Regions from separate parts of the Homo sapiens genome. Here region 1 is linked to region 2. Evidence: promoter capture Hi-C in 16 types of primary human blood cells and fetal thymus (Javierre and others, 2016). All regions are on one chromosome and are shown on one strand. Each heading gives the region's core, a stretch centred on a gene start or on the middle of the fragment in contact. The rest is flanking DNA. Distances are from core to core; before and after follow the strand shown.

Evidence for each region. The method cuts DNA at HindIII sites, captures the fragments that hold promoters and counts their contacts. A CHiCAGO score of 5 or more calls a contact.
Region 1: a fragment that was not itself captured here is called in contact with the fragment with the promoter of DPYD-AS2 in region 2 in 2 of 17 cell types (M1 macrophages and M2 macrophages); the score reaches 6.7 in M1 macrophages.

Annotation. Positions count from the first base shown.
Region 1 is chr1:98,030,994-98,037,171 of GRCh38, reverse strand. The region is part of intron 3 of MIR137HG (MIR137 host gene); the gene reads left to right. Among named protein-coding and RNA genes, the nearest start is that of MIR2682, 11 kb to the left of the region's middle. The HindIII fragment of the contact is 4,667 bases long and covers 1,035-5,701 here.
Region 2 is chr1:97,794,774-97,800,893 of GRCh38, reverse strand. DPYD-AS2 (DPYD antisense RNA 2) reads right to left here and starts at 3,973. Exons shown (of 3, transcript NR_046591.1): 1 at 3,822-3,973; 2 at 3,599-3,679; 3 at 2,843-3,426. The region is part of intron 3 of DPYD (dihydropyrimidine dehydrogenase); the gene reads left to right. The HindIII fragment of the contact is 2,382 bases long and covers 3,945-6,120 here.

The sequences.
Region 1 (6,178 bases), core at 2,119-4,618, 240 kb before region 2:
TAAATGTTCAAAGATATCTTGTTAAATAAACAGGGACAGATCAGCTCTTGGATTAGGGCAGAATCAAAGTAAAATTCTCAATTTTGCAATTGAACCCTGTTCACTTCTGTTGTGCTATTTATGAAAATTGCATTGTGGTCTGCCACTGCCACATCTGGGTTACTTGCAATGCTAACAATTTAGGGGTTTGAGAAGGTGATTTTGCACTGTGGGTTCAACCAACTTATCAATCGTGAAGCATGCTCCTCGTACATATGTTGCTTAACAACAAGGATACATTCTGAGAAACACATCCTTAGGCAATTTTGGCATTGTAGTAACAACCTAGAATGTACTTACAGAAACCTATATGGTATAGCCTACTATACACCTAGACTGTATGGCAGCCTACTGCTCTTAGGCTGGAAACCTGTACAGCCACATGTTACTATACTGAATAATGTAGCCCATTGTAACACAATGGTAAGTATTTGTGAATCTAAACACTCTAAATATAGAAAAGGTATAGTAGGAATACAGTATTACAAGTTTATGGGATCACCATTGTATATCTAGCCTGTCATTGATACATACACCATTATGTGCCATATGACTACCAAATCATTCCTCTATCATAGCATTGAGGGTTCACTAGAAAAATGGTGTAACTATCTTTGTTTTAAATTCATCAAGATAGAAAGTTGATATCCTTTTGACCATTTAATCCCATTTAATAGGTTTTCCTATTTTATTAATTATAAACAATAACTGTAAATAACTATGTTCATTCTCTTTCTAAAGTTTTTTAAAAAGGTTGTAGATATAATCCCAAGATAGGTAGGTAGATAGACAGACAGACTAACTTTTTAAAATCTATTGTCTTGCTCAACTGAAAATAATCCAGTGGAAAAATTGGCACTGAGAAGCCACACCTAAAATAATCAATATTTTGTCCAAAGAAAAATATTTTATGGATTCACATAATTTGGCCAAGAACAAAATGTTTTAAATTGTGTAAAGGATAGATATTAATCCTCATACCAGCTAATTAAGCTTCTTCTGTACAACATACAGTTTTAAGTTAACAGTAATTAATATAGCCAGCTTGGAACCTCAGGAAGCTAAAGCCAGCAAGTGCTTTTTGGTTCACTCGAGAGGATGCGGTTTGATTGCTGGCGCCAGTAAACAGGTTGGGAATTGTCAACATTGTAATTAGCAGCAAGTTTCTGGATTCTCTGCCTGCCAGACTAGTGGGCTGATGCTTGGAACAGTTGCCCCAGTGGGGAGAGTGAAAAACAAAGGAAGGGAATTTGAGCAACCTTGGTAGGCTCTGCCAGCATATGCCACTGGACCAATGTTTTTCTTGACAAAGTTCTATTTTAAGACATCTAGCAGTGGTTTCCACAAAATATGAAACTCACCATAGCAACCAAAATGGCAAGCGTCTCTAGGAACCTTTCCTTGATTGGGTATCAGGTCAAACTGTGTTCAGAGTGATATTGCCTTATGTGCAGTATGCTCTGTACCGTGCACAATGTGGTTATTAACAGTATGATTAAAAGGGTTAAAATCTGTTTTGGCAGCAATCCTTAAATAGTCTGCCTCTGCCAAAAAGCCTTCAAAGAATAAGGTTATGCAAACCTTATTAACCCTTCGTGTAGTACAAATGGAAAGGAAATGTGAACCTGAATACCACCGAGCATCCAATCTTCACTACTTACTTACATGATCATTTCAATCTAGTTTTCTTAATTCCAAACCATGTGATTGTTATGATCAAAGGTTGTCATAGATTTTAAACCCAAACCGTATTTGCAGTGGCTGTAAGATGAGGACTACATTAGTAAAGTTTATAAGTAATTTATAACCCAACTGAACAAAAATTAGACTATCTTTTGAAACCTGCTTAATAAAAGTTCATGTTATATATGTATAGACACACATATATGTAAAATTTCTCTATCTTAGAATATTTTATCTTATCTAAAATAAACAACATGCATACTCTGAGTAGTCACAGGATAAATACTAACCCACCTACCTTGTGGCAAAAGCACGATAACAAATCCTTTGGCCTTTTCTTTCTTTTTTCTTTTTTTAAAAAAAAAAAGCAGCTCTGTAGTAAATTTATTTTTCTTTCCAGTGAAAAAAAGGTCAAGGTTGCTGAGCATTGCTAAAATACACATACTAATTTCTCCCAAATAAGTGATTGGAGGCATATCACAGATATTCTTACTGTCACTATCTTTGCCAAAATGTGAGGAGGAGTTTCAAAAAGATAAACAGCATACAGAGAGACAAACAAAATAGCTTTCTTTACTGTTTAAAAAAAGTCCTCAAATGGATCAACGTGCTATATTAAGCAATTGCCAAGTGGCAATTTCTGCAGGTGGATTATCAGAAGTGCACAAAAATGGCTGTGTAGATCTGGCACCCAGGTGTCTGGTGTAGCATTTAGCGGACTCTTTTGTGGGGAGAAGGATTACTCATTTGTTGGAGAGAGTTCAGTTCTCTAATCCTCCTCCACAACAGAATCCATGTTGGAGTGAACAAGCAACACGATTCTTATCCACTCTCTCTAGACTCTGAGGAATGCTCCACAATTATTTATTATTTTCACTGGAATTAGATGCCTACAGGTGGCCCCATAATGTGCCTCCAGGCATACAACCTGCTGTAAATTTTTAAGTTACATTAACTCAGCAGTATGTTGTCTTATAATGACAGTTCATTCAGTCTATGGGGAAAGGAAAGGAAGCAGAAAGGCAGTATTTCGTGTTAAGCATTATTACAGCTCTTTCCCCGTTCTTTCTTTGAAGTTAGTAAAGGATATTTGGCAGAAGCAACACTCCTGGTGTTTTGGTGTGGGCTGTGTCTCCTGATAGATTCAGAAAGGAGGTCACAGACTCCAGGCCTCTGTATCATATCCCAGGGACAGATTTGTTTATGGGGTGTCAGTATTAAAAACAGGCAGAGCAGTAGGACTTTTTCTTTTTTTGTTCTTTTTTTTCTCTTATTATTTCCCCTTTTTTGCCTCCCTTTCTCCCTTCCTTTCTTCTCTTCTCTTTTCTTTCTTTCTTTCTTTTTTTCTTTCTTTCTTTCTTTCTTTCTTTCTTTCTTTCTTTCTTTCTTTCTTTCTTTCTTTCTTTCTTTCTTTCTGAGTCTCTGAATGACTTCTATTACTCAAGTGTTTTGTCATTAGTGGTCTTTCATATTATATTAGGAAAAAATTAGTTTAGTTTTATCGAGACATTTGGGCTTATGATGCTGTTGCAATTTCACCCCTGTCACATATCCTATATTCTGCAATTGTTTTTTCCTGGGTGTTTGGGTTACCGGTCAGTGAGAGAAGGAGGGAACTGCTTCATAGCTTTTTGGTCATTGAGTTTTATGCCTATCCTTTCTTTGTAATGGTGCAGTTGTCACTGAATGGATGCAGTTAATTCCCTCGTATGTTTTTGGATACAATTCTCAGAGCTGATGAAAAAACAAAGATAATATCTAAATTAATATACTTTAGGAGTAGAAATTAGTAGAAACATTTTTAGGGGCAATATACAAGTCGATTTAAGCCTCAGAAGTCCTAGTACTGGGTTATAAAGCTCCTTCTTACAGCCATAACAGAGTAAAATTTGTCTCCCACCATTCTATTCTCATTAAACCTATAGCTTATATTACAAGTAACAATGATGATGTGCATATTTTAAAAATATATTTTATGTGTACAAAGTCATATCTAAATTATTAAAAAGTACACAATAAAACTTGTTTTAGTGTTAAAACATTTTTATTAAAATTCCTGTATCATAGACGTGGGCAAACTTAGTAGCATAAGGCCAGTTGGACACTTGTGAAGTTATCTGCCTTAATATACAAACACCTACACTAGCCCATCTTTTATTTTATAGCAAGGGATGAACTTGCTGAGAAAAAGCAACTTGTATATTCAAAAGAACTAGGATGTCTTTCAGAGTAAATCATTAAATATCCATTATGCATGTACTATTCATGAGGTTTGTGTCCAGGTCTGTCAACATTTCTTAAGTACCTACTATGCAACTGGTATTCTTCTAACTGCTGGGGCTACTGAGGAATAATTAACAGACCTTGCCCTTGAAGCATCCATGATGTACGGGACCTCTTACAATTCAGGCTGTTGGAGACTTGGTGGGGAAGTCAAAGGAATGTAAAGCAGCATCCTCCTTTCAAGGAGCAGACTAGGATGTTGTTAATATTAAATATTAAACTGTATGAAAGTGGTTGTTTCTACAAGCCCTTACTGTTGTCTCTTCACCAGAACATACTTACATGTCACAGATGTAGTAATAAGTTCTTTCTAGAAGTAGATTTGCCTTCTCTTTTTTCCTTTAAAGTATGGAAAGTCTTTCAGAACTGAGTAGACTAAGGAAGCACCAGTTAGGAAAAGGAAAACATACTCACTTTTTCACATCAAAGCAATAGTTACTGTATAACCAATTATAAGTTATATAATACCATTTATAATGAAACATGATTATATTATCCCAGGACAAATTATTCGTGTATCCATAGTTATCAGAAAATATGTTTTAGTGATTATAAAATGATAGTGCTTGCATGTAATTCCCAAATTCATTAATATTTGATTCCAGAGTCAATAAGTGTCTTTTGAGAATGTGATGATAGGCTTTATAAAAGAAAGTGCTGAACGCATTATGCTGTACTTCAGAAAGTGGTTCTCAAAATGGGGCCTTCTTAGCAGTAGCCTGAGTGTCACCTGGGAACTTGTTAAAAATGCCTGTTCTCAGACCACATAACAGGCCCACTGAATAAAAACTGTGAACCCTAATCTGAGTCTCAACAAGCCCAATTCTGATGCCTGCTAGAATTTGAGAACCACTGCTTTCTATTGATTTTTTTAAAATGACAATTAAAGTCAGGTTCTATGCAACACTGATCCAGTGCTGACCCATTTTAGGCTCTCTTGTAGATTTAAAGTTACAAGTTATTATTATTAATTAAACCAGATATCTTAAATTAAAAATTATCACTTTACTTACCTGGTAAATTCTACATTTGGGAAATATTTTAAGCCCCTATTTTGAGTTCTATTTATGTAAAACTTACATAGTATTCTTATTAGTGTTATATAATGCTCACATTGCTATCTTTATAATTATAACATTAGATTGAATTTTTCCAGGACTTAAACCATTCTTTTATTTAATTTATTATTATTTTTGTAATTCCAGTAGCTGTCCCAATTTTTTACTCTGGTATTTAATTATATCCCAGTTTACAATCTAGGAGAATCAGCTTAATTTTATAAAAGGCATACAATATTGAATAAGACCTTTAGATCATTTGTGTGTGTGTGTGTGTGTGTGTGTGTGTGTGTGTGTGTGTATGTGTTATTGTCTCATGGATTATTATTAAAGTTTTCTCATTCATCTATGACACAAATAATTTTTAAATTCCCGTGGAAGGGAATTGCCCTGACAAAACTATTTGAGCACTTATACAATGTTCTAGTATTACAGTAGCATAAAATAAGTTTCCTAATATCTGTATTGGAACTGTATTTAATAAAAATTTACTTAGAACATAGGTGATTATATAATAGTAAAAATGAATGTTACTGGTTAAGCAATTAGATTATATGGGTTCTCATTATACCAACTGGAAATTGTCTTACAAAACTATAATATGTTCTTACTTCAAACCACAGCTTTTTATTGAAGCTTTCATAAAAACATTAGAAATTCAAAGGCTGGCCTGTTTAAAATGCAGCTCTAAAACTTAGTGAATAGTTTCTTGTTTAGTGCTTTAAATTAAAATAGAAAAGAACAACTGTTGAGACCATGTAACTCTGGATTGTAAGACCTAAAGTAGTCCTGTGACTTTTACATTTTGGCTTTTGTGTTTAACACACAAAAAATAATATCAAACCACCTCGAATATAACACTGAAGTAACTGGCTGACAATGTCAGTGGGCTTTTTCTCAGTCCAAAGTCTTCTTTTCATTAATGAAACACTGTGTTTGCTTATGTCAATGCATGAACTTAGTCATACACATTATAGGATGCCAGGATATATAACAAAGAATTAATGATAATATTTTTTAGTAAAAGTGCATCTTTGGGGGGTTTTCTCTTTGTTCAAATCCACCCCCCCGTCTCTGTACGAGGGAGCTGCTTTCTTCTTCCTTTCTTTTTTCTT
Region 2 (6,120 bases), core at 2,724-5,223:
GGAACAATCAAAAATAATTAAATGGTATTAAGGAGGCTCCAAGAAACAACAGAAGAGATGAAAGTTAAAAGCATTTGACTCTACAGAAGGTGGAAGGAGATGGAATCTAGTTACACTTGTGGGGATTCCTGTTTACTGGGAGGAGGGTCAGAAACAGCATCATGATAACAGACAGAAAAAAAGACAGTGGCAGTTACAAATAGGTCCACAGAGATGGTGGCAGCACTATTTGGGAGTGCCACTTGAAAACTTTGTTTTGTCACAGAAGTAGAAAGAAAGGTTATCTGGTGAGGAAGAAGGAATGGAATAGGACTGGCTTGGAAATTGGAAGAGAAAGAGGAAAGTTTTAATGAGTTATTCTGGGGAATGGGAGAGTGGGAGTTTGACCAAAGAAGTTAAGTTCCATTGCTGTGCAGTGTTGAGAGCTCGATCTGTGACAGAGGTTAGACCATGAGGCTAGTTTTCTGCATAGGTTTTCACCGTGGACATGGATATTTTCATCTAGACTTAGGATATTCTAAGAAAGGCATGATGGAAGAACTGCAAGGGGGCTCTTTATAAAGAGTTATTTGAAGTGATGAAAAATAGAATTTGAACAGTAAAAACTTGAAGTAAATAGATAAGAAAAAATAAGAGAAGTCAATAATAATAATAGCTATAATTTGTTGCTCACCTACTATGTGCAAACAACTTTTCTAAATATTTTACATATATTTACTCAATTCTTGTGACACTCCTATGAAGTAGGTATTATTACTTAAATTTAAACTACCATTATTACTCTAATTTTACAGTTAATATGAAGACATCTACCTTTATACAAAAAATAAATGGCAAATATGGAATTTGAATGTTTCTATAGTCTAGTTCTTGTGCCTTCGCTAAAGGACTTTGCTACACAGAGATCCTGAGGAGCATAAATATCACTACTAATGGGGGAATTGAACAAGTGAAATGGGAGGTTTGGAGATGTGCATTGGAAGAGATGATGATTGAATTAGAAAATTCAGAAAGAACACACTTTAAGGTAACAACAAGGTTCTGTTCTAGGCAACGTGAACTTTCTTTCCCCCTGCTACCCTCCAGTGGAACAATTCAATGCTGCAGGTATAAAATACTTTACCTGCATTTATTGAAGATTATCTTTTTCATGTATCATTTTTGAGACAAAAAAAAGTTTTGATAAGACATTGAGATCTTAGTAATTTTGTTATGGATTTTTAAGAAAATGGATTAAAGTATTCTCAGTGAAAGCTCCATGGGAGAGCATCTTGAGGTAACAGTCTCAAGAAATGGGTCAGACTGGGATAAAGACCAAATCACAGAGTAGCAACATATGTTTATTTCAGGTTATGATAGATCACATAATTTGTACTTCACCTTTATTATTTCAGATAACTAGCATGGAGTTTCAGAAGGTGATTTTTTTTTCAGGATGAAAGCTTATTCATGCGGGTATATCTTTGGCTCTAGAAATTACTGTCATATACTCAGTAACCTTTTTGAAAACTTGCTGATTGATCATACAAATCAGGGTCATCATTTGTGTTTCTCAAGAAATACTGAAGCCACTCCAATAAATAAACTTCATGGTAACTTGTTGTTTTTACTTGATGTAATGTGACTGGCTAACCATTGTATAATGTCTCTGTGCTTCCATTTTGCATTCTATAGGGCTAGAGGAGGTGTACCACTGTGGAACAGTGTACAGGCTTCCAGGCTCACCTTGATATAGGAACAAGCTTGGCCTAAAGAAGTCAGTGTGGATGAAGTTTGGTGGAGGGAGATGAATTACAAGACTATACAGGACTCGTTTCCTTGCCATAGAAAGGAATATGAATTTTAATTTAATGATAAGAAGCAAGTAGAGACGTAATGTCTACCCCTTTTTATAGGTATAAAATGGAGATTCAGAAAGGTTCCATAATTTGAAGATGGGAGTCTCATAAGTGGCAAGGCTGGACTTTATACTCCTGTCTGCCTGTTACAATGCCTATTCTTTTTTCAATACCACCTTTATTATCTGGTACATAGATACTTAACAAATGTTTCTGAACATATATGTGCTCTGTGATACAGCAGATGAAACTTTAAATAACTGAAGTGAATACATTTAAAAATACTTTAGATGCATTTATTAAAAGATAACAATAACAACAAGCTTTATTTTGATCATTTAATTTTTCAATAATGTGTTAAATACTTTGTATGGATTATCTTATTTATTCTTAATAACAATCCTGTGAGGTAGGTACTATTATTATGCCCATATTGTACGTACATGGACAAATATCTTCACCTCAATACTGTGAGGTAGGTACTATTAGTATACTCATTTTATAATAACAAATATTGAATATTTAACAAATATTGCAAATCTATACTTAAAATGGGTAGAATAATAGTACCTGCCTCACAGGATTGAGGTGAAGATATTTGCCCATGGTCATACACTGAGTAAGTGATAAATTCATAATAGCAGAAACTATTTCACTATTTGCTTGATTGTCACAGGGAATTCTTTGAAACCATGTTTATATTTGTGGTTATTCTGTGTATGACTAGATGGTTATAAAAGTTTAAAAATTAATTTCATAGTTCACATTTTTAATTTTCTATAACAATTCAGAGAGACTATCCAGACATATGAATTAGGAGAATAATTCTGAAGAAATAGATGACACAGCAAAGGACTCTACATATAGGTTAGGACCATATTCTTGTTGGGAAGATGGCCAAAAAAGAATTTTGAGGATATTTTTTCAATTATTTAACAAATATTGAAAATCTATTATGTTCCACTTGGAAAAGAAAGAATTGGTGGGTAGGAGCCAACTAAGATCCAATAAACTTTTGTCTGTGACTTAACTCTTCTGAAGTTGTCAGAACGTTATGTTCCCCAGAGTTAGTTGTTTTGGTTGACAGAAATCTATGATATGCCAAATAAAGACTTTCTAGTTACTATTAACTTTGCCTTGCATGTAGAAAGAAAATATTACTCATCAGAACTTATCATAAATCTTAGGATGCAGTCATATCCCTACATATATTTTGATTATTTCAAAATCAAATATATACTTTAAAAAAGGCTTACTATGTTTTGAAGGGTTCATATTTTTTTTCTGAAAAATGGCAAAATAGTGCTGGCCTCATGATGCTTGGTTTAGTACAGGAACATACATACTAATATAAACAGTATGCCCAGCCAATTCATTATCATCCTGGAACTATATTCAGCCTGGCTACTATCATGAAAGATGAGTAGAAGCAGTGAGCTGGCAAAGCTGGCCTCTGCCTCTGGTTGTTAAGCTGTTGGCAGCTCAGGATGCATGACCTTTCAAATATACGCTTCTAATTCAGGACTTCTTATGATGTCATGTAGTTATGTTCTTCCCTTTTAGTGTATTCTCTCTTCAAAATTCTGTGCTGAAAAAAGGAAAAAAAAGAAATGTAAGCTACTATCCTTTTGGCCAAATGTTGAACTTTTCCTTCTGTAACTTTGTAGGTAGGAGACAGCAGAGTAACTGATCTTCCTACTGAAATGAATTTCCTTGAGCAAAATTATTTCAAAAAATATGTCTGGTATCTTTGTTTATACCTCAGGGTTGCCGAGCTGTCAGCTGCATGCCTGCTTTTCATTGAAGCATATGTATATTTGTGTATATATGTGTTTGTATGGCTTCCAATAGCATAGTAATAATTTCAGGGGAGGAAATAGAAAAGAAAGCAAGATAAATGTATTACATTTTTGTATTTCCTCCTTGCATTTTTTTAAAGATAAGACTCTGTTGTAAAATATAAACTGGCAATTTGATCATTACTTGTTATTCATTTGAACTAGTTCAGTCAACAGATAATGGACAGTGAACAGAGAGACCTCTTTTGGTAAGCCATGTAGTTTTTCCAGGGGTGATTGTTATGCTATGTGTATTTAGATAGAAGCTTTTCCCTGTGTAATCAGCTTGCTGCTGCCCATTTTACTGCCAAACATTCCTTCTCTATGGTAGCATAATACTGTTACCAAGGGAACAGCTTATGGCCGACACATACAGTAGTGCCACAAATTAATTTCACAGTTATCAGGATATAAGGTGATAACAGTAACGTGAGCTACTGTGAAATTACCATTGTTCCCACAGAGTTAGTGTAATTATTACTTTTGTGGTAACTAAGCAAATAATTCACATCACTACTCCTGGATGTTTGTTCTCTCTTCTCTGTCTCACCCTCCTTCTTTGTCTTTCCCTTTCCTTCCTATATTTTCCTCTTTTGTTGATTCAGACTCTCTCCCTGAGTCTCTTTTCACAATTACCAATTAATGTAGAGTATTTTTTATATTGGCATTAAGAAAGAGTTTTATTGAAGTGGGGTGAAGGCATCTCATATATGTAACTCATGGGCATAATTAGGATGTTCACTTCTATCAAAGATATAAAGGACTAAAACAGTGTATTGAGAGGATACATTCAATTTGTGATCAATGTAGACTCAGAGATTCCAGTTTTATTTTCATAGAATGTTAACTTCATGTGTTGAATAGAAGGATCAGTTTAATGTGATTAAAAGCAGTGGAGAAAAATTAACTTCCCTAATTAGCTGTGTTGCTTAGGACAAGGAAAACAACTTAGCTTTTTAGTACTTACATCTATAAAATTGGGATAATAATAATGCCTACCTAACAGAATTGGTATGTGGATTAAAAGAGATATGTGTGAAAGTGAATTTTAAACTGTACAATAAAAGTTTTAAGCTATTATGATCATTGTCATATAAATGGGGATACATCTGTAAAATGGGGTTAAGTATATTCACCTAACAGAATTGGTATGTGGATGAAAAGAGATATGTGTACAAATGAATTTTCAGCTGTACAATACAAGTTTTAAGCTATTACCATCATTGTTATATTTTAATGGAGGCATCTTTTGATGATAGCCTACCCTCATTATCAGAAAATTTATAAGGATAATTCAAAATAACAGCAGTAACACAGGGAAGAACACTTTTTATTGCATTTTATTATAATAAAAAGAGTGTTTCATTATACCTAGGGCACAACAAAATGAGATGTTATCATTATAAAATAACAGTAATTTTAATAATGAAATTTTCCAGAGAATGAGTCATATTTTTTATTGTTTTTATTGAGTATATGTATATGTTAATTAAAATTTCAGCATTGAAATATAAAATAATATAGGAGTGTGTATAGTATGTCCATTATTTTTTAAAAAGCTACAATGGTGAGTACATGTGAAATATGAGTTGTTCACTATGTCAAAAAGTGAAGTTGCTAAGACAAAGGTAAAATTATAGAAATGAGTTTATGTAGGAATGTTTGTTTTTAATTGCGTCAATGTGCATTATGATCTTTAGTCTCCATTCTATGTTATTTTGCTTTTAAAACGTATTTTATGTATTCTGTTAGCAAGATCAGCATATAGCTAACAGTTAGTATCAGTTACTAAATGTTGAGTAGTTAATTATGTATTTATTTATCATTCTAACACTATAAATTATACACTTTTAGCAGTTAGAAAATTGATACATGATAGAATAAAATAATTTGATGAAATTTGTAGCTAGGCATATTTGTTGAATGAATGAATTAAATATGGTGAATATGTAGTAAACTGCCTCCCATTGCTAAATGTCTTTTTAGAGAGGGTAGGAAATTAAAAATAATTATTTTCTCATGTAAATTTTTCTGCCACCCATTTTGAAGTTACCCAACACTGGTAACTTTACATAAAGAAGTATGACTTTAACTGGACTCTGTGCTCATCCCATTAGTTAAGACTGCTTTCTCACATTATTATTATTTTGGAAATAAGTAAAATTATTTTTATTTCCTACTCTTATTTGTTCTCTACAAAGAAAATCTAATGTGATCTACAAAAAGATACTAGAACAAACAAGATTAGGTATATTGCAAGATTGATATACAAAAATCAAATATATTCTAATCACTAACAACAAACAATTAAAAATTAAAACTTAAAGCAATACCATTTAAGATAGCATAAAAATTATACAGTACTAGGGATAAATCTGACTTGTGAAAGATGTGAAAGATATGTGTACTAAAAATCTATGTACCCTGCCCTGAAATAAGTGAAG